3 separate regions of the Homo sapiens genome follow, and all the other regions are linked to region 1. Evidence: promoter capture Hi-C in 16 types of primary human blood cells and fetal thymus (Javierre and others, 2016). All regions are on one chromosome and are shown on one strand. The core of a region is centred on a gene start or on the middle of the fragment in contact, and the rest is flanking DNA. Distances in the headings are between cores, read along the strand shown. Region 1 holds the start of MIR210HG (MIR210 host gene). Region 2 holds the start of SIRT3 (sirtuin 3). Region 3 holds the start of AP2A2 (adaptor related protein complex 2 subunit alpha 2).

Evidence for each region. The method cuts DNA at HindIII sites, captures the fragments that hold promoters and counts their contacts. A CHiCAGO score of 5 or more calls a contact.
Region 2: the fragment with the promoter of SIRT3 here is called in contact with the fragment with the promoter of MIR210HG in region 1 in 1 of 17 cell types (erythroblasts); the score reaches 5.6 in erythroblasts.
Region 3: a contact is called between the fragment with the promoter of AP2A2 here and the fragment with the promoter of MIR210HG in region 1, in 1 of 17 cell types (neutrophils). The highest score is 7.7, in neutrophils.

Annotation. Positions count from the first base shown.
Region 1 is chr11:566,149-571,167 of GRCh38, forward strand. MIR210HG (MIR210 host gene) reads right to left here and starts at 2,309. Exons shown (of 2, transcript NR_038262.1): 1 at 2,204-2,309; 2 at 1-1,705. MIR210 (microRNA 210) reads right to left here and starts at 2,050; the gene lies at 1,941-2,050. RefSeq lists enhancers at 1-100, 101-655, 3,241-3,991. The HindIII fragment of the contact is 23,407 bases long and covers 1-5,019 here.
Region 2 is chr11:233,267-238,121 of GRCh38, forward strand. SIRT3 (sirtuin 3) reads right to left here and starts at 3,076. Exons shown (of 7, transcript NM_012239.6): 1 at 2,782-3,076; 2 at 77-268. The coding sequence starts at 3,062. PSMD13 (proteasome 26S subunit, non-ATPase 13) reads left to right here and starts at 3,710. Exons shown (of 13, transcript NM_002817.4): 1 at 3,710-3,878. The coding sequence starts at 3,784. RefSeq lists a silencer at 3,142-3,221 and enhancers at 3,372-3,561, 3,722-3,961. The HindIII fragment of the contact is 9,250 bases long and covers 182-4,855 here.
Region 3 is chr11:923,798-928,234 of GRCh38, forward strand. It overlaps AP2A2 (adaptor related protein complex 2 subunit alpha 2), which reads left to right and starts at 2,073. Exons shown (of 22, transcript NM_012305.4): 1 at 2,073-2,291. The coding sequence starts at 2,225. RefSeq lists a silencer at 1,885-2,424. The HindIII fragment of the contact is 10,180 bases long and covers 599-4,437 here.

The DNA of each region.
Region 1 (5,019 bases), core at 1,059-3,558:
AGCCCAGAGTCACATGGGATGGAGCCTGGAATGCATAGGCCAAGTGGGTTGTGCCTGGGCAGCAGGCCTGGGATATGAGGGGCCTACTCCTCCATCCACAGCCCCGACCCACATTCTGGAGGGATGGTCGTACCTCTGTGACCAGCCCTCCACACCGTCACATAGGCCAGCAGGGGGCAATGCCAGGTGCCATCCAGAGCCCACCCCCATGTCCTCCCGGAGGTCATGAGCTCTGCCCTACGTACCCCAGCCCCACAATGGGAAGGAGGCATGGAGCTGGCAGAGCATGCGCCACGCCGTCCCTGTGTGTGTTTCTGAGGAACTCCTGTTCACTCTGAGGCCACTGCCTAGGTGCCCGTCCCTGGTCTGCTGCTGCTGGCTCTGATGAAGCTAACCAGCCTTCTTCCCCACCAAGAGGGTGTCCCAGCAGCAGCTATGGCTATGTTCCGGCGGGGGGAAGGCGGGGAGCCTTCCTCCTCACTGGCTGTTTCATTTTTTTATTTTTTTGAGGCAGAGTCTCTCGTCACCCAGGCTGGAGTGCAGCGGCGTAATCTCGTCTCGCTGCAACCTCCACCTCCCAGGTTCAAGCGATTCTCTTGCCTCAGCCTTCCAAGTAGCTGGGATTACAGGTGCCCACCACCATGCCTAGCTAATTTTTGTATTTTTAGTAGAGACGAGGTTTCACCATGTTGCCCAGGCTGGTCTTGAACTCCTGATCTCAAGTGAGCGATCACCCGCGTCTGCCTCCTGAAGTGTTGGGATTACGGGTGTGAGCCACCACACCCGGCCTCTCACTGGCTGTTTCAGGTGAACCAAATCCCATGGCCCCAAAAAGTGGCCAGAGTGCTTCAGATCACTCAGCAAACCTTTGAGTTGCTGAAAAGTTTACTTTTGAGTTTTAAACTGTACTTTGAAAACTATATTGTGAACTGTGTTGACATGAGGAAAGGCTGGGCTCCCTGAAAACATCCAGTTCCACAGCAGGGCGGGCCCAAGCCCAGCCAATCCCCAGGCAATGCAGGGCAGGGATCCCACCTGGTGTAAGTACGGGCAGAGGGCAGAGCCAGGCTGTATCGAGGGGCGGCGCTGGGACCCTCCTCGCCCAGAGTTCCTACTCATCCCCAGCACAGAAGTGCTCTGTAGGGCCAGCTGAGGACACCCCGGTTCACTGAGGGTGGCCCACAGTAAGTCGCCGTCTGGCAGTAAGTTAGCTCTGCAGGTGTGGACCCCAAGACCACACACAGCCTTTCTCAGGTGCAGGTCCTGCCAAGCCTCACTTCGCAGTGGTGACAGGCAACCCCGTCAGGGCAGGGAGCTTCCAAAGGCCAGTCCGAGTCCATGCCAGGCGTCCACTAAATCTGCCTCTCCCTCTCCAGCGAGCAGGTGCAGCCCTCAACTCCTGCAGGCCTGGGGAGCGGAGACAGGGCCTGTAGGCTCGGACACGACCCGGTCCTGATTTTAACAGTAGACTTGAGAAGGCAGGCTCAGCAGACAGGCTGCTGGAGGATCCACCCGCTGTCTCCCGCAGCGGCCCCACTGAAGCGGCAGAAACACACAGAAGCACCAAATCTGTCACTCTCTTCCCGTAGGAAGTCCCCAGAGGTGGCCCTCCGGAGGATGGTCCTGTTGGCTGAAGATATGACCACACCTGTGCCTGCCCAGGGCCACCTTCAGCTTGGCAACAGGAACTCCGCACACTGGTACCCTGGACACACAAGGAAAAGAAAGTTCCCTCCAAGAGGGTATCTGGCCCAGCCTCAGCCCCACCAAGCGGAGGGCAGCAAAGCCCCCGAATGATTTCGCTTACCCCCACCCGCCGTCCCTGCTGGCCAGACAGGCACACCCCGTCCATAGGGCACCCCCTCCCCACGGTATCCAGCTGCCCTCGCGTCCCCGTGTGGCCGCTCGCCTGCCCGCCAGACCCGGACACGGGGCCAGGAGGGTCGCGCTGCCCAGGCACAGATCAGCCGCTGTCACACGCACAGTGGGTCTGGGGCAGCGCAGTGTGCGGTGGGCAGGGGCTGCCCTGCGCCTGGAGGCACTGCCGGGTGGGCGGGCGGAGGGATTGACCCCACCCCCGTCCCCTCCAACTTGGGCGTCCGAGCCCCGCCGCGCCTGCCCAGCCCGACCCCCCGCAGCCCCCGCGGGAGGGCGGCCTCTGAGGGGCGCCCCGCCCGCCAACCTGGGATCCCTCGCGCGTCACCTGCGACCCCGGCGCGGGGCCGTCGCCGGCTCTCGGCCCAACTTCAGCTGCGGCCGCTGGCACCCTCTCGCCCCCCGGCCCGACCCGACCGGCCCCGGGCCCCGCGGCTCCACGCCCAGCCCCGTATGCAAATGACCTGGTCCCTCAGCCAATGGCCGGCCTAGCCGGGCCCGCCCTACCGCAACGCAGCCAGTGGGCGCGAGGGGGGTTCGCGACGCCCCGCCCACCGCCGCGCGGCCCTTCGCGGGCGAGGCCGGCGCGTTCTTTTCTGCACGTCTGCCCGGGGAGGGGCGGCACCTGCCGGGCGGGGCCTGCGGGGCGCCAGCTGCGAGGGCGCGGCGGGGCCAGGGCGCGTCCCCCGGCCGGGCGGATGGTACGGCCCGAGGTGGTCCTCCTCCCGCCGCGCGGTGGTATGGCCCGGGCTCGCGGGGCTTCCGGGCTGGGCGTGGGGCGCAGCCTGGCGACGGGTCCTCCGCCCGCGGGTGTGCGTGGGGCGGCAGGGCCGGCCGGGAGCTGCCCCTCTTCCCGCGGCGCGGTGGTACGACCCGGCCGCCTCCGTGCCCCGCACCCGCGTCCCGCGGGCCCGCCCCCCCCAACCCGCTGGGCGCCCGGCGCACGTATCCCGGGCCGTGACCCGGGTGGGGCCTGCGCGGGCCCGGACACGGCGTCCTCGGGACGCACGCACCACCCCCCGGGCGGCTTGGGGTCCCCAAAGGACGCCCGGGTCCGTCCTGCTGGCGAAGAGGGGGCTCTGGCTCTGCCTGGTTTGCCTGGCGACCCCCACGGGGCGCCCTTGGGGGCTCTGGGTCCCTCCTGCGCGCTCTGTCTCCGCGGAAGCCTCTGGAGCCTGGAGGGGGTGCCTCAAGGGCTCAGGGGTCTTCGCAGCCCTGTGCCGGTCTTTGAGGGGACGAGGCGAGAGAATCCTGTCTGTGCGCTGAAAACGTGTAAAATCAAAGGAGCCTTGACGGTTTGACCTTCGTTAGGACTCGCAGGGCCAGCTTCAGACGTGGAAGTATCGGACTCCGGGGTGGGGCTCCAAAGTGGCAGCCAAAGGAGATTTGGCCGCCGGCCCCCCTTGGCACTGTCACCCTGGTCCTCGGCCCCGGGCCGTCTCCCCTCAGCTCCCTGGCCCTAAACTCACCGCCCTGCTCTTTGTCCTCCCCTGGCCCCATGACCTCCCTGCCTCGGCATCCGCGCAGGCCTGGGCCGCAGCCTGCCCCCTGCCCCAGCCCCGGCGGCAAAGTGCTGGGGCCCCAGGGAGCTTCCGAACCAGCCCATGTCCTCAGGGGCTTGAAGGCTGGGGACAAAAATTCAGATGCAGAGTCTGGGGTGACTCAGACATGATCAGCAAGACATGACCGAGGTCTTGCTGACCCCTTGACCCTTGGCCCCCGATAGAACCGAGTGGCTCCTTGCACCTGTGGCTGCCTGTGGATGGGGAAGGTGCCCAGAGGATCACGGAGCCACTCGGTTCTATTGGGGGTCAGGGGTCAGCAAGACCTCGATCCTGTGGGTCGTGAAGGAGCCTCTAAGAGTCAGTGGGGTCCCTGAGAAGGCCCACGTCTTCATGGCAGGGCAGAGGCTCCTAGGGCAGTCAGACTAGGGGACAAGAAGGGGCAAGAGGACAGGGCAGCTCTGTGTTCCTGTCGTGCCCTGCTGACGTGAACCCACTTCTGCCCCCAGTCCTGCCAATTTCACAGGCACCTTTTCTCAGCATCTGTAGTGAGTGGGATGGTCCCTCCGCCAAAAAGAAGATATATCCACATCCTAATACCCAGGCTTCCTAAATGTGCCCTCATCGGGAGAAAGCATCTTTGCAGATGTCATTAAGGGAAACATCTTGAAACGAGATCATCCTGGACTTTCTGGGTGGGCCCTAAATCCAATGATCAGTGTCCTTATAAAAGACAGGGAAAACAGGCCGGGTGTGGTGGCTCAAGCCTGTAATCCCAGCACTCTGGGAGGCCGAGGTGGGCAGATCACCTGAGGCCAGGAGTTTGAGGCCAGCCTGGCCAACATAGTGAAACCCCATCTCTACTAAAAATACAAAAAAATCAGCCGGGCATGGTAGTGTGAGCTTGTAATCCCAGCTACTTGGGAGGCTGAGGCAGGAGAATCGCTTGAACCTGGGAGGTTGGCAGTGAGCTGAGATCACGCCACTGCACTCCAGCATGGGCAACAGAGTACGACTCTGTCTCAAACAGACAAACAAAAAACACAAAAAAAGAGAGAAGGCCGGGCGCGGTGGCTCATGCCTGTAATCCCAGCACTTTGGGAGGCCGAGGAGGGTGGATCACCTGAGATCAGGAGTTCGAGACCAGCCTGATCAACATGGAGAAACCCCGTCTCTACTAAAAATACAAAATTAGCCGGGCGTGGTGATGCATGCCCGTAATCCCAGCTACTCGGGAGGCTGAGACAGGAGAATCACTTGAACCTGGGAGGTGGAGGTTGAGGTGAGCCGAGATCGCGCCATTGCACTCCAGCCTGGGCAACAGAGCAAGACTCCGTCACAAAAAAAAAAAAAAAAAAAAGGCTGGGCGCGGTGGCTCACGCCTGTAATCCCAGCACTTTGGGAGGCCGAGGCAGGCGGATCACGAGGTCAGGAGATCGAGACCATCCTGGCTAACACAGCGAAACCCTGTCTCTACTAAAAATACAAAAAATTAGCCGGGCGAGGTGGCGGGCGCCTGTAGTCCCAGCTGCTCGGGAGGCTGAGGCAGGAGAATGGCGTGAACCCGGTGGGCGGAGCCTGCAGTGAGCAGAGATTGCACCACTGCACTCCAGTCTGGGCGACAGAGCAAAACTCTGTCTCA
Region 2 (4,855 bases), core at 1,826-4,325, 330 kb before region 1:
GGAATAAACTGGGCAGTGGGGAGGGCAGGAGTCAGGGGAGGGGAGCGCAGAAGGCAGGTGGGACTGTGGGCAGTACCTGAAGTCTGGAATGCCACTGGGTGTGCTGATGCCGGCCCCCACCATGACCACCACCCTCTGGCAGGCTCTGGCCCGAATCAGCTCAGCTACATCCTGCAGGGAAAGCTTCCCCTTGTCACTGCTGCCTCCACTTCCAACAACACTTGAAGCACCCACAGAAAAAGATATGGACCTTCTTCCACCTTTAATACTGACAGAAAAAAACACAGCAGCAAAGGAAACAGATAGCAACCAATCTCAGGATAGCAAGAACGAGCATGGCTCTGCCCTCTGCACCACCGCCACCCTCGAGAATGAGCATGTGTGTCTCCCCAGGCCTCTCAAAATAATCACCTTTCTTAGACGACTATTGGGGTACAACAAAAAGCAGTCATAAATCAGAAATCAAGACTTACTTGGGAGCAAAAAATTCAGGTTAATGGGAACTGTGCTCATTTCATAATTCAGTACACTCAGTAGGCACTCAACTCTGACTGACTGCAAACCTCCAAAGGGGTCTCCTAATGAAAACTGGTTAAGGAGTCAAGAAGCAAAGAGGGAAAACCCTGGTTCTAAAACCATCTCACCACCTATTAAGCGCCCCACTTCACACAGCATTTCAGACATCTATTCACTTAAGGTCGTTCCCCAAACAGCTACTGTGCTCCTACTAAACACGAACTGTTAAGAGAAGCACAAAAGGAATGAAAGTTATTATTGCTGTTGAGTGCCTGCTGAGGGCAAGGTATCACGAAGGGTGCCTGAGTACATTCCTCATTTACGTAAATAAAATGTTTGTGAGTCACTGAAAAACACATAAACGGCGTTTTACCAAATGTCTGGAACATACGTAAGATGTATGGCTTAAAGTACATGCTGCATGGTGTGAAATTCACTGGGAGTGGGGGACCCTGAGGGGCAGGCATGGGTGCAACCTGGGAGGGACACTGTGCAAAGGACACAAACAACAAATTCAGAGAGCTCAAAAATCCAAAGCCAAACTGGAGGAAGCCCATGCAATGGACTACTCCTCACACGCAGCCCTATGCCTCCTGCTTTAGGGCCAGTGGTAGCAAGGATTTTTGTTTTGTTTTGTTTTGTTTTGTTTTGAGACGGAGTCTCGCTCTGTTGCCCAGGCTGGAGTGCAGTGTCGCGATCTCGGCTCACTGCAAGCTCCGCCTCCCAGGTTCACGCCATTCTCCTGCCTCAGCCTCCCGAGTAGCTGGGACTACAGGCACCCGCCACCACGCCTGGCTAATTTCCTTGTATTTTTAGTAAAGACGGGGTTTCACTGTGTTAGCCAGGATGGTCTCGATCTCCTGACCTCGTGATCCGCCCGTCTCGGCCTTCCAAAGTGCTGGAATTACAGGCGTGAGCCACCGCGCCCGGCCGCAAGGATTTGTTTTAACAGTTTTGCAGAGTATCACAGATATTAGAATGCGCTCCACGTGTTTGTAGGTCCTGGTCCCTGCTCCATCCATAGCACCTAGAACAGAGTCTGGCACAGAATAAGAGCTCAGTCAGGGCTTCTTGGATGAACGACTGACTCTTCGGGATCTTTGTTTTTTTTTGAGACGGAGTTTTTGCTCTTTCGCCCGGGCTGGAGTGCAATGGTGCCATCTCGGCTCACTGCAACCTCTGCCTTCCGGGTTCAAGTGATTCTCCTGCCTCCGCCTCCTGAGTAGCTAGGATTACAGGCGCCCGCCACCACGCCCGGCTAATTTTTGTAATTTCAGTAGAAATGGGGTTTCACCATGTTGGCCCAGCTGGTCTCGAACTCCTGACCTCGTTATCCACCCGTCTCATCCTCCCAAAGTGCTGGGATTACAGGCGTGAGCTACCGCGCCCGGCCAACTCTTCAGGATCTATTAAACTTTTTTCTTTTTTTTTTCCCACAGGTAGATAAGAGTCTTGCTCTGTCACCCAGGCTGGAGTGCAGTGGCTCAATCATAGCTCACTGCAGCCTTGAACTCCTGGACTCAAGGGATCCTCTTGCCTTAGTCTCAGGAGTAACTGGGACAACAGGCTTGCGCCACCATGCCCGGCTAATTTTTAAATTTTTGGTAGAGATGGGGGTCTCGTTATGTTGCCCAGGCTGCTCTTGAACTCCTGGCCTCGAGCGATCCCCGTCTCAGCCTCCGAAAGTGCTGGTATTACAAGTGTGAGCTACCACTTCGAGACTCACTTTTCACCAACATTTTCAGCAGTTGTGTCAGACAGCAAGTCAATGTGCCATTATTTACTTAAATATTCATCCATTATAGGGCATCTGATACCTAACAACCATGGACCTTAAGATTTTTTCCTATGTAGCCTCAGTTCTTAGATGCAATTACTATGGAGACGGGTACGATCACATGCCAGTGGGAGTATTAACCGCACAACATTTATGAGGGATCATTAAAGCGTTAAATGCATATACTTTTGGACCTAGCAATCCCAGTACTAGGAATTTATGCAAACAGTGAGGTGCCAACAAGGTTATTCACCACAGCATGATGCACAATAACTAAAGGTTAGAACGTATTTCAATGAGGGAATGGTGAAATAAACGACAAAACCCCCATAAGTGACGTCCACAGATCAGCATAAAGACGGAGGCCCCGGTGTTGGAACGCACGTAAACTCCCAGACATGCCGCAAAGGAAACACGGCAAGGTGAGAAAGAGTGGGCGAGGTGTCGACAACGAACACGCAAGAAGTGCTTGTCCTTGCCCAAAATACCTCGAAAAGAAGAAACTGGGAGCTGCTGCCCTCGGCTGCCTCCGGAATGCCCTGGGCACCTCGGGTCTGGGAGGCCTCTGCAAGGGGCGCGCCGGGTCCAAGGGCTCACCGCGGGCCCCATGGCTGCCTCTCAGCCCCGCACTCACATCGTCCCTGCCGCCAAGCACCAGCCGACAGCCGCAGGCCTGAAACGGCCCCACGCCTCCCCCGGCCTCGACCCGTTCAACTACCCGGCCCCACAGCCGGAGGGCTGCCGCGGCGCGCCAACCCCAGAACGCCATGTTCCGCGCAGTCCAAGGAGTCCTCCGGACTCGCCCCGCCCCCGGCGCCCCGGCCCCGCCTCCGCCTCCCACCCCCGCCCCCGGCGCCCCAGCCCCGCCTCCGCCTACCGCCCCCGCCCCCGGCGCCCCGGTCCCGCCTCCGCGCCCCGCCCCCGCCTCCTTGCCGACGCCTCCGGCGCGCCCAGGTAGACGTAGAGGCGAGTAGAGGAAGTTCCCTAGTCTGGTGTCTCATCTCTCGCCCCGGAGGTCAAACCTGGAGCCAGCATTTCTGTACCCTGCGCTCACACCTTTTTCAACCCGGATGGCGGTGATAGTTAATACTTTCTGAGCGCTTTTACTATGGTCAGGCATTATATTTACACCTAATCCTCGCAAAACACTACTGGGAAGATCCTCATTTGACAGGAGCAATTCCGGGTCACAAAGGCTGACACCACAAAGCTAGTCCGTAGCGGGTTCGACCACAGGCGCCCACACTCTTTGACGCCTCAATGGCACAGCCAAGTGCGCGGGAAGTGGGCTGCAAACGCCGGAGAGTTTTGTCCGGAGCGCAGAGACGCGCTGTAACCGAGCAACCAGCGGGGCCCGCCCCCGGCCTGCTACGGCGCTCCCAGCCTGCCCCGCGCCGCTCGGCGCCGGAAGTGAGTGAGCATTTCCGGCAGCCATCCCCGCGGTGCTGACATCCCGGTTGTTCTTCTGTGCCGGGGGTCTTCCTGCTGTCATGAAGGACGTACCGGGCTTCCTACAGCAGAGCCAGAACTCCGGGCCCGGGCAGCCCGCTGTGTGGCACCGTCTGGAGGAGCTCTACACGAAGAAGTGAGCGCCGAGCAGACGGGCCCTGGGCCCCGGCGATAGAGGGAGACGGAGGGGGCAGGCGGGCGGAGGAGCGGACCCTTGATGGGCTGAGGGCGCCCAGACCCAAGTTGGGGGGAAACGGGGACGTGTAGCGACCGGCTGTGCCGGCAAGGTTTGCTGAGGAACCTTGAGTGGCAGGGTCGAGGAATAAGAGGGATGACAGACCACGAGGGCCAAGAGCTGTAGCCAGGATGTTTCGGTCTGAGATTCACTGCTTCCTTAACGGGGGACTGAGACTGAGGCTTCTGAACTCCTACCTCGGGTCTTACTAAAACGGTTCAGGAGTAGCCTTTGATTTTAGCTCTTGATTCCATCTAACAAGCAAACACACTTTCAGGGCCACCACCCACTTTGGGAAACATGTTGGTGATTCGTGCTTAGCCTTGTCATAGTGTAACTGTATCTACAGTTATCTTTCTCATGGTCTGGAGTTGATAAACCAGAGGCTAGTACAGCTTTGCTGTTTTCCCTATTCATTCTGCAGCTGGTTGCACGGGGTGCAACCACTTCCGCCGTCCCATTGTCTTTACCTTCCATTGTATTTCTCATGGGCTTTCTGCCCCTAGAAAGATCTTAAAGTTTAGGTTTGTTTAGAAACAGGATGAATTGCAGAGCAATTAAATTCTTGCTAAGCACTAACCTCCTTTTAATATGAGTAGAATAAATTGCTGGCATTGGGCTGGAGCTATTCCATAGAAAATACATCTCCTGTAGTAACCTCCCTGTTAACCCTAGCATTTAATATAATACCTTTCACATAGATGTTCCATACATGTTTTGATGATGTTTAGCATTCAGCAGCCTTCTGCTATTAGCAGTTTTTGAGAGCAAATTAATGTTTGGCAAATAATGGTTTGTGTTGGATAGCACTTGGTAATTTTCAAAGCATTTTATCTGCGTTATTAAATATTAGCCTTTGGGTTTTGGATGAAGCGCTA
Region 3 (4,437 bases), core at 823-3,322, 360 kb after region 1:
TTCCTAGGACTGCGCACTCCCGAAGCTGGCCTCTCCCGAGCCGAGGAGTGGCAGTGGTCAGAGAGGCCCACATGGACTCAGACCCAAGGCTGGGACTGGAGTGAATCATCTGGAGGGCTTGCGTGTCTGCAAGGGCAACGACGCTGGAAGGAGGTGGGAAGTCTTTTGCATGGCTGCATGTCGGGCCTTCTGGGACCCCTAAACACTCTTGTGTGGACGGGAGGATGTCTGTGGGAATCCCAGAGCTGGCACTGAGGAGGAGTCTTCCGAGTGGGCGGAGGGGGATGCCTGCCAGGCCCAAGCCCTCCTGTGGGCAGCCCCTGCAGCACCCCCATTGCCCTGCTCTGTGAGTGGCTGCTGGTGGGGGGGCACAGTGGTCTGCTTGTCTCGGTCTTCTGCACTGCCACTGCCAATGGGAGCTTGGATTAGGCATGCCAGCCTCCTGACGCCCAGAGCCCATGCTCTGCCCACGTGTGTTAGTGGACGGTCCTCGTGACTGCTGGGACTGTCCTGGAGAGCAGCCCAGGACCCCTCACATGGCACAAGATGCTCTTGTGTCCAGAATGGCCTTTATTTGTTGTCAGGGACAGGGGAGGGAAGCTTCTTGGTGGAAGGGAGAGGCTGAAGAATGAACAGCCCCGGGACCACTTTCTCTGCCAGGAGGTGGCACTGGGAGAGGATAGGGACTCCGGAGGGGTGTACCGTCCTCCAGGAAGCCCTCTGCTGGGTCGGCTCCGTGCCTCTGTCTTGGGAAGTGATGGACTTGGTTGCCTTATGCTGACTGGGGTCTGTCACAGATCTTGGTTTTCCCCAGGAGTTCTGGAGGCCCAGAGCCTGGGTGCGGCACCCGGTTCATTGGGGAGGGGCATGGGTCCTGTGCCCTCCTCCTGGCCGGGCTCCACCAGGGCTAAGCTCTCATCTGGGGCTGCGGAAGTGAGCCAGGGTGGGGACAAAGCCCTGGCTGGTGGGTCTGGGCCAGTTCCAGGTACAGGGTCCAGATCCCCCCACTGCAGCAGGAGGGAGCTTCCTGTTCAAAGCCATCTGGCTCTGGGAAGGACAGTGAGGCAGGGCCATCTGCTTCCCCACTCCCTGGGGTCTCTTCCTGGCCGGGACCTGGAGCTGTGCAGCCTGGCCCAGCAGGTCCTCCCTTGCGATGTGTCCACAGGGGTGGGCCTAGGCCTCCAGCTTGCAGTGGTGCAGAGGGCTGGGGAGCAGAGGGGGCCCTGGCAACAGTGGCCAAAAGTCCTGGCGCCGCCGAGGGACTAGATTCCGCAGGGGCTGCCGCCCCCGGCCGCTGTCACTGGGGTGGGGTGGGTGGTTGTTTCTCTGCAGGCCCAGGTGATGTGGAGGGGGCACCTGGGCTGCCACACAGACCCTGGGCTGGGTCGGGCACGGGGCCTGCCTCGCCCCCAGCTCAGGGACCGCAAGAGATGTGGCCCTGGCGGCTCAGGGCGGCAGGAGGGGCGGGCCAGCCCCACCGTCTCAGGATACCGTGCTAGGGGAGGGTTTCCTCGCCAAAGGCCGTCCAGCGGCTGTGACCCCTTCGCCTGGAGCCCCAGCTTCCTCCCGGCGCCGCCCTCCCGCCCCGGCCCCCGCGGAACAAACAAGGCCCTGGCCTCGGAGCTGCCCCGCCGCCCAGCGCTCACAGGTCGTTTATTCCAAGTAAGAAAACGGAGACTGCTCGGGGCAAGCTAGCGGGGCCGAGGCCCAGGACGAGGCCGTACGCGTGTGCCTGCGTGGCCGCCTCTTTTGCAGTGACCACCAACAACGACAGAGGCGGCCCGCTGCACACGCGGGTTCCCGCCCGGACCCACGCCCTTCCCGTGGGGGACGCGGGCGGCATCGCCAGCTTGGCGCGGCCCCGGGACGCGAACGCGTGGCTTCAGCGGCTCCGTCCATGGTGTCCGCCTGCAGGGGGCGCCCCCGCGCCTGCCTCGACCGGCTCGCCCCCGTGCCGCGGACGCGCGCGCGCTGCCTCACGCGACACCCGCCCCGGCCGCCGTCCGTCGTCGCTCGCGTGCGTGCGCGTGCGTGCTGGTGCGGGCGCCGTACGTGCGCGCGCGCGGCGGCCCAGAAAGCGGCGCTGGGACCCTGAGGCGGCCGTGGTTAGGCGGCTCCCCGGCGGCTCCTCCGCGGCGGTGACGGCGACCGCACTCCCCGCTTCCCGCTCCCCGCGCTCCTCCGCCCGGGTCCGCCAGCCGAGGCCGCTCCCGAGCGTCGGAAGATGCCGGCCGTGTCCAAGGGGGACGGGATGCGGGGCCTGGCGGTCTTCATCTCGGATATCCGCAACTGTGAGTGGCGGGGGCGGCGTGGGGCCGGGGCCGGGGCCGCCGGCGGAGACGGGGTCTGGGAGCGGAGGCCCGGGGCGGGGCCTCGAGGCGGGGGTGCAGGCTGGGATGCGGGCGGGGCCCGGGGCCTGAGGGTGCGGGCGGCGCTCGGGGTCTTGGGGTACCGGGTCTGGGGGTGGGGGCCAGGGTGCGGGGTGGGGGTCCAGGGTCTGGGGGTGCGGGCGGCGCTCAGAGTCTTGGGGTATCGGGTATGGGGGTGCGGGTCAGGATGCAGAGCGGGGCCCTGGGTCTGGGGGTGCGGGGTGGGGTGTCCAGGGTCTAGGGGTGCGGGGTCTAGGGGTTTAGGGCACGGCCCTTCATCCACATCTCCACTCCCGTTTGCTGGTCCGTGCGGGGGGCTGCGGCACCACCAAGGGGGTTCCGGGCCAAGACGCCCCTCCCCAGCATGATGTCACCTTGGTCTTTCTAGTACTGGAGCGTTTAACCCAGCGTTTTCCAAAACGGCGTGGATTTTAGCTTTGGGAGCAGAAATCTGGAAATCAGTGTCTTCCCAGGAAACAGCTTTGTGACCTGGGTTCTGGAGGCTTATTAACCCCTGATTAGATCTCACCTACGACGATTAAAATGACTCATTCCCGGAGGGAATCTGGACACGAGCAGCAGTCGGGGTGTGGGATGGCCTCGCTGCCTGCTGCTCCAATCACAGACCTCGTTCTCAGCCCCGTGCCTGTCCCCTCGGGGTGGGAAAAATCCACACCAAACCGTTAAACAAGCCAGGAAGGCTGGGCCTGTTAGAAGGATGTGCAGGGTGGCTGGGTGGGTGCACCGGTCCACCAATTAATTTGACTTTGGTGTGCAGAACCTCCTCTTGGCTTTCAGAGGCCATCTCCTTATTTAATTTGAGGGAGAAACAAAGCCAGTTTCCTGTCTGCTGCGTTGATTTTTTTCCTTGTTATCCAGCAAATAGTTGACTTCATGATTTTTGTTTTTCTTTTTTTTGAGACAGGGTCTTGCTCTGGCTCTCAGGCTGGAGCGCAGTAGTTCCATCACGGCGCACTCAACCTCCCACCTCAAGTGATCCTACCACCTCAGCCTCCGGAGTCACTGGGACTACAAGCGTGCACCACCACCATGCCTGGCTGATTTTCGTGTTTTTTGTAGAGATGGGGGGGTCTCGCCATGTTGCCTAGGCTGGTCTCGAAATCCTGAGCTCAAGTGATCCACCTGTCTTGGCCTCCCAAAGTCCTGGGGTTACTGGCGTGAGCCACGGCACCCTCATAATTTTTAATGTGTATTTTGAGGGACTGTTGTGATCTTCCCTTTGAATTCTCATCTCCTTAGACGGGATGGAGGATCAGGAGGATAGTGGTTCTCCCACACTCTGTGGAAGGGTAGAGGACCATCTAACCCTTCCTGTACTCTGTTAAAAAAAAAAAAAAAAAGCATAGAGCTGGGTGCGGTGGCTCAAACCTATAGTCCCAGCATTTTGGGAGGCTGAGGCAGGTGGATCTTTTGAGCCCAGAAGTTTGAGACCAGCCTGGGCAATGTGGTAACACCCTGTCTCTACAAAAAAATACGAAAATTAGCTGGGCGTATTGGTGTACACATCTATAGTCCCAGCTACTTGGGAGGCTGAGAGAGGAGGATCACTTGACCCCAGGAGGTTAAGGCTGCAGTGAGCTGAGATCGCGCCATACTCCAGCCTGGGTGACAGAGTGAGACCTTTCTCACAAAAAAAAAAAAAAAAAAAAAAAAGGCTTAGAAACACCCTCAGATCAGCACTTTTACGAGTAGCATTTTTTCTCTTTGTTTGTTACATAATGAGACCAACATGCATTTTGTAAAACTAAGTGTGTGTATTATTTCTTAAGGGGACCTCTGGGACAAAGACTGAGTACCCTTAAATGCGCTATGATGTCTGTCCTTCCATTTTTGAAGAAAATTGCGTTAGGCAGGACAATGAGATTGAAAGCCATTTCCTCAGACAGCAAGTCACCCACTTGTCAGATATATTGTCTGTGCCAGGGCCTGCGTTTGACAGGATGGCGCCTACCACAGTGAGTGCGGTATAGCCGTCCTCCCTTATTTGTGGTTTCACCTTCTGAGGTTTCAGTTACCTCTGGTGATCTGAAAATAGGTGAGCATAGTA